Regions from separate parts of the Homo sapiens genome. Here region 2 is linked to region 1. Evidence: promoter capture Hi-C in 16 types of primary human blood cells and fetal thymus (Javierre and others, 2016). All regions are on one chromosome and are shown on one strand. The core of a region is centred on a gene start or on the middle of the fragment in contact, and the rest is flanking DNA. Distances in the headings are between cores, read along the strand shown. Region 1 holds the start of TASP1 (taspase 1). Region 2 overlaps SPTLC3 (serine palmitoyltransferase long chain base subunit 3).

Region 1 (5,076 bases), core at 853-3,352:
CCAGCCACTGGGGAGGCTGAGGCAGGAGAATCACTTGAACCGGGGAGGCAGAGGTTGCAGTGAGCTGAGATCGCACCACTGCATTCTAGCCTGGGCAACAGAGTGAGACTCTGCCTCAATAATAATAATAAAAAAAAGGGTCCGAAGAATTTTGTTACTTTTACTTGAGCAGTATTCACCTACCAGAGGATGGCCTGTGTGGCATCTGGGTGTGATACCCAAGACAAAAGTATACAGAGCAGCACTGGGAGATGATTATTACAATGTAGTTAAATTCCAGGAAGAATGTTGCCTAAGAAATGGAAGGGAGCATGTCTATGTCTTTTTAAAACTTTAACATCTTTCTTTTATTCCTGCTGGTTCCAGTTAATATTGCTGTGTAAAAATCCACTTTAAAGGTGCAAAAGAACAACTATTTTATTATGCTGATGGATTCTGCGGGTGAGGAATTCAGAAAGGTCACAATGGGGATGGTTTATGTCTGCTTCCTAATGCCTGGGCCAAACTTTCTGGCACTATATAACAAGGGCCCCATTTTCTCCAGCTTCCAATAACATCTTCCTTAGCTCCCTTTAAGCCCTCATTGGCAGCTTCCTCAAGTCCTTTTAGACTCTTGTTAATACTTTGGATCCCTTCCTGCTCTTGCTGCTTCACCTAGTTCCAAAGCCAGTGCCACACGTTTTACTTTTATGATGTTATTATGTTATGTTTTGTTATAATATCCATCCTACTTCTAGGTAACAAAATCGGTTTCAGTTACTATTGCTATGTAATAAACTGTTATTCTTACTATGTAATAAACTTCTTCCCCTTGCCCCTCCCTAAGAAGTCAGTGGTAGAAGAGAAAGAAAAAAAGCCCCAAGTTACATAATAAAACCACATAGGTTATATTTATAATAATGGTATCAGTGGTTCTCGAACTTTTTGGTTTCAGCATACCTTTATACTCCCCAAAATAGTAGAGAACACTCCAAAGCTTTTGTTTCTGTGGGTTACATCTATTAATATTTACTATATTAAAAATTGAATACAAAGCTGAAATGTGGCTGGGTGCGGTGGCTCACGCCAGTAATCCCAGAACTTTGGGAGGCCAAGGCAGTAGGATCACCTGAGGTCAGGAGTTCGAGACCAGCATGGCAAACATGGTGAAAACCCGTCTCTACTAAAAATACAAAAAATTAGTCGGGTGTGTATCGAGCGCCTGTAATCCCAGCTACTCAGGAGTCTGAGGCAGGAGAATCGCTTGAGCCCGGGAGGCAGAGGTTGCAGTGAGCCGAGATCGTGCCATTGCACTCCAGCCTGGTTGACAGAGTGAAACTCCATCTCCAAAAAAAAAAGAAAAAAACCAACAAAAAACTGAAATGTTAAAAAGTTATTTAAAATAACAATAATAAACCATTATGTGTTAATATAATTAAGACATTTTAATGAAGAATAAATATTTTCCAAAAACAAAAAAATGTGGTAAGAAAAGTGTTATCTTTTGCATTAGTGTAAATTCCTCTATAGCTGGCTTAAAGAAGCCAGTTAGATTCTCATTTCTGCCTTTACATTCAGTTCGACGTGATGTTTTGGTGGAAGTATAAGGAAAATCCATCAGTCATGGGTCATCAAAACCCATGACTGGGTTTCGGTCTTACATCCTAGCCGATAAAAGACCGCCTACACTCCTTCCCCCTGGGCAAGGCTCGTGCCCCAACTCCTACAAGCAATGCAGGCTGAACCTTAGTTTTCCCTACCGTCTAACAGTGCTCTAAGGATTGAAAGAAAGTAACTCTTAAGCGACACCTAGATAAAATGATGGTCAGTTTAATTTCATTTCTCATCACAGTATTAGTCAATCAACCACTCAGATATAATCACATCCTGCGGGCTTATTCAGGGGCGGGGTGGGTAGAGATAAGCAATAGCGCATGCGCAGCTCAGAACGAAGCCCCAGGTGGAGTTAGCGCTGCACCTCTGAGGCCAGGTGAGCCGCTCCGAAGCGGAGGGCGGAGTCAGAGCCGCTTGTGGGAGGCTGCTTCCGACCACGTGGTACCCCGAATGACCAATGGGGAGACTTGATGTCAGCCCCGCTTCCTCACCCTGGCAACGGGCGGGTGACTACTTCCGGTGCAGTGAAGGCTCGGGGCTGAAGCGGGTGAGTGTCCCTCTTTCCCACGCTGTCCGCGCCGCTGCCGCCTCCGCGCTGCTGCCTCTGTGTGTGGGCCCCGTACGCTAGCTGGGACGTCCTCTCCGGGTCCGAGAGGGGGCGGCGCGCAGGACACCCCTTGCCCCGGGCGGGGCTAGAGGAGGGGGCCAGGATGTCCCTAGTTCCCTAGTCTTGGTCGCTCTAGGCGGCCCCGTCGTCCCCCTTCCCAGCCTCATCTCCGGCTTGGCGTCCTCGTGGCCACCGGGGAAGTACTGTCTGTATGTGGGGAGTTCTCGCAGTTCTTCACCCACTTTGCAGTCTCAGGCTGGAGATGTCTCAGAGTCCGAGGTTCGCAGACAGCCGAGAATGTGCGCCTTGTCCTGGGTGGCGGGTTGGGGGTAAGGCAGCCCCTTACTTAGTAATAGAGGCCTGATGAGAGTCCTGCGGGTCGTTAGCACTTACTACTCAGGGGGAGGAGGAGGAGGAAGAAGAGGAGGAGGAAAGGACCGAGAAGATGGAGCAGCTGGAGAGGAGGGGGGGAAAGCAGGAGCTAGAGATGTCCTGGAAATCGAGGGTATCGTGTTTCCGGAAGGAGAGAGTTCAACTTTCCTGGCTTCTGTAGGGGAGGGGAAGGAAAGGTGTGTTAGGGGCCATTAGATTGCTGAATTATTATTATTCTTTATTAGCGAAGGAATTTTTACTTATATTCTTAGGAGTTTAATAATTTATCTTTTTTGTTGTAAATAAAACTTTTCCCCACCACTTACAAAAAGCAGTGCTTACTAAGGAACATCTGGAAAATGCAGAAATAGTTATGAAGAGATCACCTATAGTTCTGCCAACCCAGCATTTTGATCTTTTTTCTAATATTTTATTCATATTAACCTATTTGTGATCATAATGTATGCGTGTAAAATACGGTTATAACTAAGAGGCATAGTTACATACATTGTGTTCATTGCACGGATAGATTGTCTTTTTTCCTCTTGAGAAAGTCTTATTAAGGTATTCATGCACCATAAAATTTATTCTTTAAAATTGTAAATTTCAGTGCTTTTTCTCATATCGCAAAGTTGTGCACCCATCACCACTATCTACTTTCAGAACATTTTCATCACCCCCAAAAGAAATCCTATACTCATGACAGTCACTCCCCATTAGATTCTCTGCTTTCTCTCCCAGGCCTTGTAACCACTAATCTACTTTCTGTATCTATGGATTTTCCTATACTGGCATTTCATATAAATGGAATCATAGAATATATGGCCTCACTTGTCTGGTGTCTTTCAGTTAGTATGTTTTCAAGGTTCATCAATGTCTGTGTATCAGTATTTCATTCTGTTTTATGGATGGGTAATGTTCCATTGTGTGAATATGCCACATTTTGCTTAACCATCATCGGTCGATGGACATTTAGGTTGTTTCTACTTTTTGGCTATTTTGAATAATTCTGCTATAAACATCTGTGTACAAGTTTTTGTATGGACATACGTTTTCAGTTCTCTTGAGTATATACCTAGAAGTGGAATTGGTGGGCATATGGTAACTCTATGTTTAACTTTTTGAGTGAGTGCCAAATGTTTTCCAAACTGGTTGCACCATTTTACATTCCCACCAGCAGGTTATAAGGGTTCTGATTTTTTCATATCCTTGGGAGCACTTATCTTTCTTTTTGGTTATAGCAGTCTTAGTGCTTATAAAGTGGTAGCTCATTGTAGTGTTGATTTGCATTTCCCTGATGGCTAATAATGTTGAGCATCTTTTAATGTGCTTATTGACCCTTTGTATATCTTTGGAGAAATGTCCATTTAATTCCTTTGCCCATTTTTAAATTGAATTGTCTTATATTAAAGTTGTATGAGTTCTTTCTATATTCTAAATGTAAGTCCCTTTCCAGATACATGATTTGCAATATTTTCTTGCGTTTTCTCCCATTTTATGGGTTGTCCTTTTACTTTCTTGAATGGTGTCCTTTATCTACTTAGAATTTTTTTTTCAAAGACTTGTCAAGTGCAATAGGGAGGATATTTAGAGTTAATTTTTCTGTATGATGTGAGGTAGGAGTTCAGTTTCATTCTATTGCATGTGGCTATCCAGTTCTAGCATCATTTGATGAAAGGACTGTCCTTTCCTCCATTGAATGGTAGAAACCATTTCAACACTCTTGTTGAAAATCAGTTGATCATAAAAGTGTAGGTTATTGTTTTCTTAACCGTTTTTCTGTATTGGACATTTAGGTTGCTCCCAGATTTTTGTTATTCTAAATTATCCTGTGTTAAACATGGTATAAAAGGCATAAAACCTTTTCTCTATTTAGTTATTTTGGTAGAAAGTTTTCTCAGAAGTGGAATTACTGGTTAGAAGATGAATTTAAGTATGTCCTGGAGTTCATTTAATGAGGCATTAAACCTTCAATATCACGATGTTAAAAGCAACAACACAAGGCTGGGTGTGGTGGCTCACGCCTGTAATCCCAGCACTTTGGGAGGCCCAGGCAGGCGGATCATTTGAGGTCAGGAGTTCAAGACCAGCCTGACCAACATAGTGAAACCCCGTCTCTACTAAAAATACAAAAAAAAAAAAAAAAAAATTAGCCCGGCATGGTGGCCTGCGCCTGTAATTCCAGCTACTCAGGAGGCTGAGACACAAGAATCGCTTGAACCTGGGAGGCAGAGATTGCAGTGAGTTCAGATCATGCCACTGCACTCCAGCCTGGGTGACAGAGTGAGACTCTGTCTCAAAAAAAAAAAAAAAAAAAAAAAGCAACAACACAATTATTTATTCATGAGTTGTAATAGCTTAAGGGCTGGATTTCTATCAAAGCCCTTTGCTGTAAGATGGATGAATTCCATGACTTACTTCCTTTTTCAACTGCTTCTTAAAGAATAAGCAAACCTACGGTGAAAAACTTTAACACCACAGCAACAGGACGTGGTAGTTTTCAA
Region 2 (5,076 bases), core at 904-3,403, 490 kb after region 1:
CTCCAGCTCCATCCATGTTCCTGCAAAAGACATGATCTTGTTCTTTCTTATGGCTGCATAGTATTCCATGGTGTATATGTACCAAATTTTCTTTATTCAGTCTGTCATTGATAAGGATTTAGGTTGATTCCATGTCTTTGCTATTGTGAATAGTGCTGCAAGGAACATTCGCATGCATGTGGCTTTATGGCAGAATTATTTATATTTGTCCCTATTTAATAAATGATGCTGATTATTTATTAAATAGGGAGTCCTTTCCCCATTACTTGTTTTTGTCAAGTTTGTTGAAGATCAGATGGTTGAAGATATGCAGTCTTATTTCTGAGCACTCTATTCTGTTCCATTGGTCTATGTGCCTGTTTTCTTACCAGTATCATGCTGTTTTGGTTGCTGTAGCCTTGTAGTATAGTGTGAAGTTGGGTAACATGATGCCTCCAGCTTTGTTCTTTTTACTTAGGATTGCCTTGGCTATTTGTGCTCTTTTTTGGTTCCATATGAATTTTAAAATCTTTTTTTTTCTAGTTTTGTAAAGAATGTCATTGGTAGTTTGATGGGCATAGAACTGAATCTGTAAATTGCTTTGGGCAGTATAGCCATTTTAATGATGTTGATTCTTCCTATCCATGAACATGGAATATTTTTCCATTTGTTTGTGTCTTCTCTGGTTTCTTTGAACAGTGTTTTGTAATTTTCATTGTAGAGATCTTTCACCTCTCTGGTTAGCTCTATTCCAAGGTATTTTATTCTTTTTGTGGCAATTGTGAATGGGATTCTTTTCTAATTTGGCTCTCAGTTTTGCTGTTGTTGGTGTATAGAAATGCTAGTGATTTTAGTACATTGATTTTGTTTCCTGCAACTTTGCTGAAGTCGTTTATCAGCTGAGGGGCTTTGGGGCCAGTACTATGGGGTTTTCTAGATATATATAATCATGTTGTCTGCAGAGATAGTTTGACTTCCTCTCTTCCTATTTGGGTGCCCTTTATTTCTTTCTCTTGCCTCAAAATCAGTGATTCTTAACCAGAGAAACACATCAGGGTTTCTAGAATTTTTTTTTCAAGAATACACATAGTAGGCCAGGTGCGGTGGCTCACACCTGTAATCCCAGCACTTTGGGAGGCTGAGGCAGGTGGATCACAAGGTCAGGAGCTCAAGACCATCCTGGCTAACATGGTGAAACCCTGTGTCTACTAAAAATACAAAAAAATTAGCTGGGCGTGGTGGCGGGTGCCTGTAGTCCCAGCTACTTGGGAGGCTGAGGCAGGAGAATGGTGTGAACCTGGGAGGCGGAGCTTGCAGTGAGCCAAGATTGCGCCACTGCACTCCAGCCTGGGCGACAGAGCGAGACTCCGTCTCAAAAAAATCTGTGTATATATATATACACACACACACACATAGTAGACCTCCCTCTGCAGACATTCTGCTCCAGAAGGACTAGGTTGGACCTTTCAGAAAAACTCACTGGGTAACTGTGGTGTGTACCTCCAGTTAAGAACCACTGCTGAAAGTAACAAATTATATAGTGTTTGTTGATTCTCTAAAAATAATGATTGATAATAACTGAAGACACCAGAGAATAATTCAGCCTCAAGAAATTTTTGTCCTCAGTCAATAGATTTGTGCGTTAGGTTCTATCTGCCTCTATATCTATAGAGATGAGCAAGTCACTCATCATCTCTGAGCCTCAATTTACTGATCTGTTAAATGGGGATGATAGTAATAGCTACTACATCTATTTCTCAGGACTTCTGGGAGGATGATTGATTCAGCATCTACTTACTTAGTACCTATTATTTGTAAGTGGCTGTTGTGTTCAGTGGAAGATTAAAATATCAGTGTGTCCACTATTTTCAAGGGTCTTATAAACTAGAAAAATTAATCACAACAAGATAGAAAATCAAGTGCCCAATAAAAGAAGTGCTCTGAGAGTTTGAAGGAGACCTAGAGATGGTAACTTAACATCTTGTGGACACAAGTTTGGGGATGGGGAGGAAAGGGATGAGTACTTGCCTAGAATGTTTGGATTCCAGTCATGGGAAAGATCAGTAGAGTTAGATCATCATAAGCTAAAAATGCCACCTTGAGAGTCACAATTTTTTGATGGGTATTAGAGAGCCCTGGAAGCATTGTAAGTAAACATGACATGCTCTGAGGGGGTTAGGAAGACAAAGCTCATAGTGTATAGTGCATGGATCAGGATGAGGGAAAAGCTGGAGGTAGCAAGACTAGTCAGGAAGCCAAGGTGGCAGCAAATGTCTGAAATGGGCGAGGAGCTGTGTCGACAACTGTTCCAATTTGTGGCAAGAAGACAAAGGAATTGGCAAAAGACAGATACTAGGCTGAGTAATTGTGTTAATGTGGTTCCTTGAAAGGGCTCTGAGAAACCGTGCAAATGAAGGTGGCCACCAGGAAGCCCCATCCAAGGCAGCTGCCTGCAGAATTAAAACCTTTTGGTTTCCAGAGCTTTGCTAGGGTAGGATGCACTGAACAGGCCTCAGGGAGGAGGGTATGGGGAAAAATTGATGGGGAAGCCCCCCAGACTTTTGCCTTGTGCCCAGGACAATGACTTCTCAGCCAAGCACTCAAACAGTATGAAGCCAATTTGCTGGGTTCAAAGTAAACTCTACCATCTTGGGCAAGGTACTTCCTCTTTCTGAGACCTGGATTCTTCATTGTAAAATGGGAATCATGACAAGGATAATAATAATAATGCCCACTGCATACTGTTATGAGGATTAAATATTAAGCAGTTAGTAGGGTGTCTGACATAACTTGAGTGCTACAGAATATATATATATACTTTCATACACATTTATTTGAAAAATTCTATGGTTCACAAATATTGAAAACTATTAATTTGAACCAAAGACTGGACTCACTGACTTGGATTTGCTCTCTAAAACTGGGTCCCTCTTGTCTACATAACTGACCTGCGGCACCTACAGCCAACCTGGCCATCCCGGTCTCCTTCTTGGTCTTTTTGGTGCCCAAGACATGTCCTCCATATATTCCTATTTTTAAGAATTACATGTTTATCAGAATAATTTCATTCTCAGTGCTCAAGTTGAAGCAGATGATCACAGAGAATTTAACTACATAAAGTCCTCCTATTTTACAAAGGGCACAAAACTTCAGAGATGTTCACCAGTAATGAAGTCCTAATTAAGAGAGCCCTGATTAGGTCTTAGCTACAGGTGAACATCTCTGAAGTTTTAAAAGAGATTCAAAGAGAGAGAGAGAGGCGGGGTATTTGATGTGAGGGAGACTCTCCGTTGCTGGCTTTGAAGATGGAGGGGCCCTCATGAGACGGAAACAGCCACCAGAAGCTGAGAGTGTTCCCATTGACAGCCAGAGAGGAAATGGGATCTCAGTCCTACAGCCCCAAAAGACTGGATTCTGGCACAGCCATGTGAGCTTGGAGGAGGTGCCTGAGCTCCAGATAAAACAGCAGCTGCTGACACCTTGATTTCAGCATTATGAGAACCTGAGCAGAGAATACACTGTGCCCAGACTCCTGACCCAAGGAAACTGATATATTCAATGGTCACTAAGTTTGTGGTAATTCGTAATGTAGAAATAGAAAGCAAATACAATCTCTCTAGCCCAGACCCACACACTGGGATTCCTCAGGCACAAATCCACCTGCCTAATCCTCCCCAGCTGTAGGAAGGAAAAACAAAGGCCAGTGTGGAATACCAGTTCCCCTTTACCCTGGAAGATGCTACAGATGGAATAATGTTCTTTCCTTTCCCACTTGTACTGAACCAACATGGAATTCCATATGTATTACATCACCACTCCCCCATCTCAGGGTCCAACCACACAGAGGAAGCAAATGTGAAGAGGATGCTCCAGTAGGGCTCATGTAAAAGGATATCTTGTTTGTGGGACGGCTGGAAGGAAGTGGCTGCACTATCTTTTGCCCCAGTGCCATCTAAAAGACACACAGATTCTCTTTACATTCTTTCTAGGGAAATTTTTTAAAGACTCAAATCAACTGCAGAATTTACTGAGCTTTCATAAAAGTCTACCCTTGGCTAACTCTTTGGATAAAGTAAATGAAGGGGCAGAAGGTTCTGGAACAGTTTGCTAGCTATTTCTGCACAACCAGGCAAACTTTCCCTCTTAACTAGAGTTCAGTTTGTTGGCTAATTTTGCATTTATTGGACAAACCCAAGTTGTCACACATGTAGGTAAGCAGCAACAGCAAGGCAGAGAGGCAATGTCTGTCACCTTGATTGCTAACCCTGACCTTAGGTCCACACACACAAAAAGACCAGGTAGAACTTTTTTGCCCCCCAGCACAGGTGATTAATCATGGACTGAGGCAGGCCCTCAGTTGAAAGCCAGTGGAGCATAGCACCAACATCTGTTTTGTATTACCTATTGCTGAAATGCCAGGGGCCTGAAACCATTTAGAAAATGCAGCTCTCCATGCCCTCAGCCTCTTTCGGTCTCTCCAGCTGGCAACCAAGTGGCAAATGTATTTAGAAATCAGAAGCTAGCTCCTCTGTCAACAATGCCAAGGGCCTTGAATGCCGGGGCCCTCAGACAGTACATTTTGGGCGGAATTTTTTGTAGATGCCTCTTGTTTTCATTGAGGGACCTTAGAAAAATGGAGCAAACACCATGTCCTGGCTGAGTTGGATGGAGAGAAAAAAGGCTGTAGGAAACCAGTTTTGTATTCAGTGAACACTCTTCCAAGGTAGACACTGAGAAATGTGAGAAGATTTTTTTTAAACCAAGTGTGAATTATCATGGTTTTATCACCCGCACCACAGTCCTTTTCCTCTTTGCTTTTCATTCCCTCTTCCCTAGAGAAGAGACAGAATTTGAGTGAGGAGTAAATCTGCAATAACAGCCACAAGATAAGTTTGAGGATGTGAATGGATAGTGTAGCTTGCAGCTCCCAACAGTTTGCACTGAAGACAATCAATGTCTTATGAGAGAAGTTTGTGAATGTATCTCATGTCAAAAATAAACAGTAGGAAAGAGAAAATTCCTCTCTTAAGAGCTAATTTCTATCACCCAGTGTACTCCTTTCTTTCCCCCCTCAATGCCCTAAATCTTCCCACTTAG

Evidence for each region. Contacts are between HindIII fragments. The CHiCAGO score rates a contact against its expected background, and 5 or more counts as called.
Region 2: a fragment that was not itself captured here is called in contact with the fragment with the promoter of TASP1 in region 1 in 1 of 17 cell types (total CD4 T cells); the score reaches 6.4 in total CD4 T cells.

What each region holds. Positions count from the first base shown.
Region 1 is chr20:13,635,958-13,641,033 of GRCh38, reverse strand. TASP1 (taspase 1) reads left to right here and starts at 2,102. Exons shown (of 14, transcript NM_017714.3): 1 at 2,102-2,140. RefSeq lists a silencer at 2,202-2,351 and enhancers at 2,542-2,631, 2,245-2,745. The HindIII fragment of the contact is 10,129 bases long and covers 979-5,076 here.
Region 2 is chr20:13,141,070-13,146,145 of GRCh38, reverse strand. The region is part of intron 9 of SPTLC3 (serine palmitoyltransferase long chain base subunit 3); the gene reads right to left. It also overlaps a transcript of TASP1 not described here. Among named protein-coding and RNA genes, the nearest start is that of ISM1, 78 kb to the left of the region's middle. The HindIII fragment of the contact is 6,662 bases long and covers 1-5,076 here.